Linked DNA regions of Homo sapiens: region 1 is linked to region 2. The links are contacts of gene promoters, found by promoter capture Hi-C in blood cells and fetal thymus (Javierre and others, 2016). All regions are on one chromosome and are shown on one strand. The core of a region is centred on a gene start or on the middle of the fragment in contact, and the rest is flanking DNA. Distances in the headings are between cores, read along the strand shown. Region 1 overlaps SLC60A2-DT (SLC60A2 divergent transcript). Region 2 holds the start of FYN (FYN proto-oncogene, Src family tyrosine kinase).

The links. The method cuts DNA at HindIII sites, captures the fragments that hold promoters and counts their contacts. A CHiCAGO score of 5 or more calls a contact.
Region 1: a fragment that was not itself captured here is called in contact with the fragment with the promoter of FYN in region 2 in 1 of 17 cell types (neutrophils); the score reaches 6.2 in neutrophils.

The regions. Positions count from the first base shown.
Region 1 is chr6:111,242,832-111,247,748 of GRCh38, reverse strand. All of the region lies in intron 1 of SLC60A2-DT (SLC60A2 divergent transcript), which reads left to right. Among named protein-coding and RNA genes, the nearest start is that of SLC60A2-DT, 14 kb to the left of the region's middle. The HindIII fragment of the contact is 1,769 bases long and covers 2,719-4,487 here.
Region 2 is chr6:111,871,633-111,876,593 of GRCh38, reverse strand. It overlaps FYN (FYN proto-oncogene, Src family tyrosine kinase), which reads left to right and starts at 3,142. Exons shown (of 14, transcript NM_002037.5): 1 at 3,142-3,626. LOC102724646 (a long non-coding RNA gene) reads right to left here and starts at 3,142. Exons shown (of 3, transcript NR_168402.1): 1 at 2,904-3,142; 2 at 382-543; 3 at 1-100. RefSeq lists silencers at 3,013-3,102, 3,223-3,472, 3,623-4,022 and an enhancer at 3,071-3,570. The HindIII fragment of the contact is 15,284 bases long and covers 1-4,961 here.

The DNA of each region.
Region 1 (4,917 bases), core at 2,354-4,853, 630 kb after region 2:
CAGGCTGGGGTGCGGTAGCGCAATCTCAGGTCACTGCAACCTCTGCCTCCCAGGTTCAAGCGATTCTCTTGCCTCAGCCTCCCGAGTAGCTGGGTTTACAGGCACCTACTACCACGCCAGGCTAATTTTGGTATTTTTAGTAGAGACGGGGTTTCACCATGTTGGCCAGGCTGGTCCCAAACTCCCGACCTCAGGTGATCTGCCTGCCTCGGCCTCCCAAAGTGCTGGGATTATGGCCTTTATGATTTTTAAATTCCTGCTGGGCACGGTGGCTCACGCCTCTAATCCCAGCACTTTGGGAGGCCGAGGTAGGAGGATCATGAGGTCAGGATTTCGAGACCAGCTTGGCCAACATGATGAAACCCCATCTCCACTAAAAATACAAAAATTAGCCAGGCAATTTTTGATTAGCAGGCACTTGTAATCCCCGCTACTCAGGAGGCTGAGGCAGGAGAATCACTTGAACCTGGGAGGTGGAGGTTGCAGTGAGCCAAGATCGCACCACTGCACTCCAGCCTGAGTGACAGAGCAAGACTCCATCTCAGAAAAAAAAAAAAAAAATCCTTATGAATATTACATATGCATGTAATAAATATTAATTTAATTATCATGCAGAATGCTTTCATCCATTTGTAATGAAACTGACTTGCCTGCAAGTCATAACATGCCTAATTTTCCAAAATCTTTTTCGCCATCTCAATTATTGAAACAGTAACATTGCTCAATGACATAGGATAAATCATTTCAATTTGATTTCTTTTTATCTTCATACTAATAACCTCTTACACAGCCGGCAAAATCAATTTTGCCTTAACATTGTGTGGCTTACCACATTTTTCAATCATTGTGCTATTCTGAAAGAAACAATAAAACCATCTTTCTGATTAGGAAAAATTTGTTAAACATTCCAATGATAGTAAGACAGCTTTCAAAGTTCTCAGGATGCTGTATCTCTGCCAACTTATTGCTCTGTTTCTTTGTAAAGTGGTCACTTAATCTTCATGGTTTCATTGCTTCCTGAGAGAAAAACATGTTAACAAAATGGAAATATTGGTAACTGTTCATTTGTGGACAAAGATATAAGACCTAATTTGAAATATCCAACTGAATATTGATACTTTTCTTCATAATTAGTGAAATAAGGACTGAATAAATATATTAATATAGGTAGAGAACAATCACTGTAAGTGCAACGTTATACATACAGACTGAGTTGTAGTAGGTGAGTATCAACTACTCAAATACCACGAGTGACGTTATTGCCCTTGATGATTTTCCAAAATGGAGAACCTAAAACAAAACGCAACCTTCCCTTGTGTTACATGATATTTTACTTTCTTGGAAAACTCATTTATTGAAACTATGCTAAAAATACTTGGTGCCTATATGTACAAGAGAGAGTCTGGGCTCAGATAATCAAAAAGAAATATTTTTCCTTCATATGAATATTTGGCAGGACATTCAAAAATTGGACAGTATGTGGGACTATCCCACACATGTGGAGCTCTAGCATGTTGAGCCTCTGCCCACTAAATGCTAATAGCAGAGTTACTATGACACCCTCACACATTTTCAAAGCACCCCCTGCAGCCTGCAGGACTTCATGTTTTTTATTTATTTATTGAAGACAGAGTCTCGCTCTGTCAACAGGCTGGAGTGCAGTGGTGCGACCTTGGCTCCCTGAAACCTCCACCTCCTAGGTTCAAGCGATTCTCCTGCCTCAGCCTTCCAAGTAGCAGGGACTGCAGGTGCGCGCCACCACGCCCAGCTAATTTTTTTATTTTTTGTAGAGAAGGGGTTTCACCATGTTGGCTAGGATGGTCTCGATCTGCTGACCTCGTGATCCACTGGCCTTGGCCTCCCAAAGTGCTGGGATTACAGGTATGAGCCACCACATCCGGCTTCATCTTTTTTTTTTTTTTAACTGCTCCTTCAATTGAGAATCACAAGATAAAAAGCATCTGCCTCAAAGGTTTAATACCTTTAGCATCAAAGGTTTAATACCTTTAGCATCATTTGAGACTCAAATCATTAAACTCAAAGGTTTAATACATTTAGCATCTTTTCAGAAAATACTATTTGCTGAGAATGCTCAAATGGCCAGGGCAACAGAAGAGAGTGGTATTCTCTCTAAATGCTACGAGGATTCTAGATAAAAGTCTTCTTTTCCAAGTTACTTCTTGATAAAAGTTCATATATCATAAGACATTCAGAGGTACTTTTTTTTCTTCTTAAGCACCAAAGCTCTTTTGGATTTGTACGCATAGGATGAAGAATGGCAATTGCTAGGCAGTAGAGCCTCACCAATGAAAGTTGTTTGCTCTCCAGTATCTGAAGAGACTAGTCTTTGTTTGAAAACCTTGTGATAATGTCACTTGGGGCAGACACCTTGGAAGAGGATGCCCATTCTCTTCAAGACCCATGATAACCATCCTTTATTGCCACTAGCCCCATAACTAGGATCAAATCTTGACATCTCCAGGTGGGCAGGTACACACTATGATCCAGGAGGAAATAACACCAAAATAACTGCAATATTTTGTTAATATATATGAATGGAAACCTGGTGAATGTGTGGAAGTGGATGCTAAAGGTATTAAACCAAGGAAAACAGAATAGAACACTAGATCCAGCTGAATTCACTGCTATGGATACACTTTACTAGGGACTGCAGGTTCAAAGTGTCAGTCCATGCAGCTGGAGATGGCTGTAAAAGCTTACTTGGTTGGTTGACTAAAAATTTCGACTCACTGGTGGTCTACAGTTAATGAGGTTGAAATGCTGGAGCTTCCTTGGCATGATGTGAAGGAAGTAATCCAAAGGCTAGCCTCTGTCTTTTTCCATAGCAAACTTCAATGCTGGAAGATTTTTGAGAAATGGCTACAAAATCCCATAGGAAAGAAAACATGAGCCAAATATTTTCAGGTGTAAAGACAAAAGATAAATAGTTTGAAGATGAAAGAACTCTTGGAATATTATTTTCATAAATCCATTTGAGAAATGTTAGAAGGTTCAGTAGAACAAGAGATGAGTGGAGAAACAACTGCAGACGGGATTGGCAGTGAGCTTTGATGCAAATCACAGGACAAAGACAAATATGAGGATTACGGTGGAAAGATGGAATTTAAATGTTATTAGCCCTGATGATGTAGAAATGATAGAGCAATAAAAAGTGGAAAGCAATGGATGGAAAAGGATGAAAATATACTGATTTTTTTGTTTGTTTGCTGGATACTATGGTGTGTGTCTGTAATCCTAGCTACTTGGGGGGCTGAGGCAGGAGGATTGTTTGAGCTCAGGAATTTGAGACTAGCCTGAGCAAAATAGTAAGACCCCATCTCTAAACAATTAAAAATTATATATATGAAATAAAGTATACTGATTCCTCATCTTTAATAACTAGAGGTGAAAAGTTATTACTTAAAGCTAATTAAATGAATAGTAGAGTTATAAGTATAAAATGGAATAATACAGAGGTAAAATAATTAGAGGTAAACATGAAGAAAGATAATATTACTAAAATCAGGTGATAGAGAGGGGGAGATGGAGGAAAAAATATGTTAATTCTGTCATTGTAAATAGAAGAAAACTATTATATACTGTTGGAGTGGGGGAAGGAGGAGAAGATGAATTATTCAGTGAGTAGTAACTAGTATCAAGAAAACTGGAAAAATCCAGTTGACCCTTCAACAGCACAAATTTGAACTGCATGAGTCCACTTATATGTGAATTTTTTTCAATAAATATATGGAAATTTTGGGGGGATATTTGCAACAATTATAAAAAACTTGCAGACAAATCACATAGCCTAGAAATATGGAAAAAAGAAAATGTTAGGTATGTCATCAACGCATAAAAATATGTAGACACTTGTCTATTTTTATCATTTACTACCATAAAATATACACAAATCTATTATTAAAATGTTAAAATGTATCAAAATTTACACACACAAACATCAGACTACACATGGCGCCATTTGCAGTCCAGAGAAATGGAAACAAATGTGAAGATGCAGTATTAAATCATAACTGCATACAACTCACTGTAGTACACACTGTACTGCTGGAATAATTTTGCAGCTGCCTCTCGTTGTTGTCGTGGTGGGCTCCAGTGTTGTGAGTATCCACCCAAAACGTTGTGTGACGCTCGTCGGTCATCTCCACTTGCCCAGTTCATCTCTCCAGTAAATTCCATTGAAGTAAAAACTAATTTCTCTCAGTTCTTGCATTTTTTGTGTGTGTTTAGTGTGAGAAAAATGAAATCCTAAGCCCCCCAACCAACTAAACAGACTCCTTTCTCGGCCAAAACTCAGTTCCAGCTGTGACGAGATGGGGGCCTCATTACACCTGCTCCTGCTCTAACTGCTCTTAGGTTTTCTTCCTTAAGGGTTACAGAGAAGCCAGCCCTTCTGAGAGACTTGCTCCACTGCTGATAGCCACCAACCACCTGTCGCTGCCCTTCCATTTGGCAGTTTGGACAAAGCTTTCCTTCCTCATAAGAGACCAGGGTCCACAGAGTGGCTCTGGCCAGTCTACCAAGGATGAGCAGAGAGGTTTTCGTGTTGTCTGCTTCACCACTTGAAATCAGAGGGCCAAAAACTCCACCCTTGGATGGAGGGTGCTAACACTGCCACTTTTTGAACATGGGTCCCATGGAGAAGCATGAAGCTCTATTGTGCATGTGTGTGTTTCTCCTTTCATAAATAATCATAACTCCTCCTATAGCTTATTAAGTATGTATATTTGGCCACCTGCTTCAGCAAATCTCTGTCATACTCTTCCCCCTGTCAAAGTGTCTGTTTTTGGCTTCTGGCTGGAGGCTGTTCTTTCCAGCCTGTCAGAATGGCCACCCTGCAAGCTGCAACCCTTTATAAGAAAGCTCTCCTTTCCAAATGTATGAACCTCCATCGTTCTT
Region 2 (4,961 bases), core at 1,893-4,392:
CATCTTTATTTTCTTGTTGATTTGTAAAAACTCTACATTGAGGGTTTTTACCCTTGCCATATGTGTTGTTGTTGAGTTGACATTTAAGAGAAGATTAAAACTAAAATAAAATAATAAGACAAGAAAATGTTTTAGCTAATAAAAATAAGAAAAAAAAGTTACTTTAAAAGCAAGATATAAGATTCAGATGAGACAAGTTCAAGAAAGCCAGAATAGAAAGAGGAAACTTTAAGGTAAAACAAGTAGAAAAATACAAAATATATAAACAATATCAATAAAATCAAAGAGAAGTTCTAGAACAATGACTACATTCTAATTTGTATAATAGAAGCTACTCATAAGAAAACAAAACTGGTGGTTGTGGAAGACAATATTACTTACCTTGGGTAGGCCAGGGACAGCGTCTCAGATCTTTAATCAAGTTCTTGGTAGAGATTGGCAGAAAAGATCAAAACGGGAATAGTATACAAATCTTTTGCAGTGCTCTATTCACTTGTTCAGACCATTAGCAAATCCTCCTGAGGAGTCCAAATCCATTTAAAGCTACATTTAAGACGGGCAACAGATAAAAAAGTAGGTAAGCAAAGAATTACAAAAAACAGGATGAAGTCTTGATGGGAGCAGGTTAATCTGTCATTTTAATCACATTGTCTCTTTGTCCACTAATTAGATCAAGAAGCTATTACAGTTGCAGACACTAAGAAGTGACTTCTCGTGAAGAAACAGAGAGAGAGGAGGAGAGAGGGAGAGAGAGAGAGAGAGAGAGAGAGAGGACTTATCCCACCTACTCCAGATTTCCAGATTTAGCGTAAGATAGATTGAACTAAACATGAGATTTCAAGGAGATATATAGCCTAAGAGTGTTTTTTTCTTGAGAGCATATGACACTTAGTCTGTCCGGAATAGTTTGAGAACAGTTTTACTATTTTTCCCATTTTACGTATGAGGACACTAAGGTTCAAAAAGGATAAGCGACTTGCTTCATCAAAGCGCTCCCAACAGTGAACTGTGGAGCTGGAATCAGAAACAACTCCAGACCAGTGCTGCCCGATAGAGATATAACTTGAGCCACATAGGTTATTTAAAATTTTCTAGTAGACGCATTTAAAAAATAAAAGAAACAATTTAATTAACTCTAATAATGTTTTATTTAGCACAGTACATTTAGACTATCATTTTAACATGTAATCAATATTAAAATGGGATACTTTACATTCCATTTTTCATGCTTGATCTGAAATATCTAATACATCTTTTACATTTACAGCACATCCTAATTTGCAGTAGCCAAATTTCCAATACTGAAGTACATTTCAAGTACTTAACAGTCATGTGGCTAGTGGCTACCTCCTCGGACAGCCCAATTCTAGAACTATGGTCCTCAAGGTGCTGTCTCCAGATTGGCTGTATCAACATCACCTGGGAACTTGCTAAATGTGCAAATTCTTGGGCACCATCCCAAACCCCCTAAATCAGAACCTCAGGTGGTTAAACACAGCAATTCATGTTTAAGCAAGCCCCTTCAGTTATTTCTGATACATGTCAAAGTTTGAGAACCATTGCTCTACCCAACTGCCTCTGCATCCCAATCCAAATAAACCCAGAGCAGCCATTGCGGACTAGCCCTGAGGACGAAGAGCCTCTGCTCTTGAGATAAGCAATTCTTGGCTAAATGAAGCTGGCTTTCTCTTGTATGGAAATATCCTAGTCCTAGCTATGGTTCCATTTCTTGGGATTATGGAATTTCCAGACACAATTTAAACATGGTTTAATTTGTCATTTTGTTTAAGGAAAAGGAAAAAAATCCAGTAACCTCTGTATACTGTCACCTTGAGTTAGTTACTTAACTTTTCTTTTCCTCAGTTTCCTCCTCCATAGGATGCAGATCATTTAATAAATGTTAGCAACTTTTCTTAAAAAGTAGTGTGTACAAAAAGAAAAAAGTCAGCAAAAGGGACAGATTTTTTTAAACTACAGTAAAAACAAGTAGTGGGCCGGAAAGGCAATATTATAGATTTTGAGCACAGAAGCAGAAGCTGATTCACTTATAATTTCTTAGAACATTAGATTTGCTGAGGGGGAAGGTAGGGTTCTTGCCAAAATCATTAAGGAGAGCGATTCTGAGTATGCCTTAAAGCAGAACTTTCAGTAAACAGGAATTACCTATAAAGAAAATCAGGAAGCCAAAGTGTTTCTTTTTATGAAGTTACATCCTGCCATAGAAAAGCTGGATAGGAAATAAAGACCGATGCACTCCCAACTGTATACTAAACCGGCAATTATTTCATCAAGGGAAATATGAGCAAAAGCTCAGATTCAGTGAAGGGGAAAAAAACATGAGAAGTTTGAATGTTATGAGAAACCAAAGACAACCAATGACTACAATTAAACGAGGTTTTTTGGGGGTGGGGCGGGGAATGTACGAACAAATCTCTGTCATTTCAGGTTCCTTAGTCGCCGCTTGGCCCCTCCCCCTATTTCAGTAATACTTCCTCCAGACTTTTGCTAGAAAAAAAATATAAATGAGTGTCCGCAGAAATAGGGGACTGATAAAATGATCCTAATCTCCTTCTCCTCCTCATTGTTATTTGTTGTGCGTTTCCACGTTTCAGGACAGGATTCTACTTTGCTCCGTACTCTTTTCAGTTTGATCAAAGAAAACGCTGCTATCACCGCCCAATTTTCCATTTCATCCTCTCACCCTCAAATGAAAAGACACCAGAAAGGCAAGATAGCCCTGTCTCGAGGCAGTTTCCCATGGTTTTGGGGGAATGGCAGGTGCCAATCTGCAGCAGCAGCTGCAACCTTCCGCAAAGCGGAAACTGCAGTTCACACTCTCCGCTCTTTCTCCCGCCCTACTCCGCCACCTCACAACTCCACACAATCCTTAAAAACACACAGACCTCCTCCTCCAACCTCGCATTTTCTTGCACACCCTGCACCGCACGCACCCTGGGATGCCCGCTGCCACAGTAACGCTCAACCCACTCGGCGGCCCCACCTACTGCCGTCCCGCCCACGCCCCAGGCGCCAATGGTTGCGGCTCGCAGCTCCCAAGGGGCTCTTTGATAGGGCAGCCGGGCCTGTCACTCTCGAGGCGCGCCCCGCCCCCTCCTCGCTCCCCTCCGGAGCTGGAGGGGCAGAGCATCAGCAAGAGTAGCAGCGAGCAGCCGCGCTGGTGGCGGCGGCGCGTCGTTGCAGTTGCGCCATCTGTCAGGAGCGGAGCCGGCGAGGAGGGGGCTGCCGCGGGCGAGGAGGAGGGGTCGCCGCGAGCCGAAGGCCTTCGAGACCCGCCCGCCGCCCGGCGGCGAGAGTAGAGGCGAGGTTGTTGTGCGAGCGGCGCGTCCTCTCCCGCCCGGGCGCGCCGCGCTTCTCCCAGCGCACCGAGGACCGCCCGGGCGCACACAAAGCCGCCGCCCGCGCCGCACCGCCCGGCGGCCGCCGCCCGCGCCAGGGAGGGATTCGGCCGCCGGGCCGGGGACACCCCGGCGCCGCCCCCTCGGTGCTCTCGGAAGGCCCACCGGCTCCCGGGCCCGCCGGGGACCCCCCGGAGCCGCCTCGGCCGCGCCGGAGGAGGGCGGGGAGAGGACCATGTGAGTGGGCTCCGGAGCCTCAGCGCCGCGCAGGTAAGCAGGCGGCGGGGATGCGTCGCGGGAGGCCTCGGGGATGCTGCGGAGAAGCCCGGCCGCCGGCGCCCCCGCGCACGCCGCCCCCGCCGCAGGGCCCGGTGCTGCGGTCCCTTGGCCGCCAGGGCGCTCCGCGGGGCTGCCGGGGAGTCGGTGCTTGGGGTCTTCCCGCGGTTGCACCGGAGGACACCCCTGCGGGGTGCGGCCCCGAGGCAGCGCGGGGATGGGGACCCCATTTCCTCGCCCGCAAGCGGGCGCCGGGTGAAAATGGGAATTGGCTTGGGGGCGAGGCTGGCCCAGACTCCGCCCCCGCCCTCCTTTTGGGGCCCCCCGCGGGGACTGGGGCTGTGTGTGTTGTTTTAATGTCAGGGATGATGTAATCACTTAATAATTGATGCCCCGTGCTGCTTCCCTCCCCACCCAACCCCTGCCCCACTCCTCCACCTCTCGGCCTCCTCCCTCGGCGGCGGTCGCCTTCTCCAACCCATCCTCCTGCCTATTTCTGGCACCTCCCTTGCACTTCCCCCATCCTCCCCTTCACTCTTCCTGTGCCACCACCCACCCACCCTTCCCCTTTCCCCTGTGCTGGAGCCTTCCCTCCTCTTCCTCTGTCCCCCACCCCTCTGCTCCCTCCAGCTCTTTTCTCCTTCCTTTCCGGCTCCCTCGCTGGATTTCCTCTCTACTTCCCTAGATCCATGGCTGTTTTTGTTTGGGCTCCTCCCCTCTGTTATCTCTGCGGCCACAGGCGGAGGGGACTGGGCCAGAAGGAGGCCACCGAGCTTGGGCCCAGCAGAGATGTGCTGGGACTCACTGGGAAGAGGGATAATAAAATCACCCTTCTTGCCCCTCCTTCCCCCAATAAATCACACAGACTCGCCGGGTGTGTGAGTGTGAGTGTGACACAAAGAGCCCTTTCAGTGCATAGAGAGGAGACACACAAAGTACCCTAGGATAGGCACGATGCTTCTTGTCTCTCTTCCCTGGGGCTTCCCTTTCTTTCCCATGAAGCAGTTGATCTCTCTGAGTCTTTCCTGCCACATTTACCAAAAAATAAAAGAACCCCCGGATGCCGGGTGGCAGGTGTCGGCATTTTGCTGTGTTCAGAGACCGGTAGTGTTGACTGGCAGCTGCAGTGTTTCTTAGATTTAAGGGAACAGTTATCCCAGCAGTCTTAAGAGTTGCTTTACTTTTAAGGTAGCCTCCCCATCCCCTCGTTCTTTCCCCTGTCCTTTTGGGAACAAGTACTAAGAGCTGGGGTAGAGTAGATTGGTGTGGGGGTCACAAGAATTTTGTTTCTGAATCAGAATTAAATTGTTATTTGATAAGAGGGAGGCA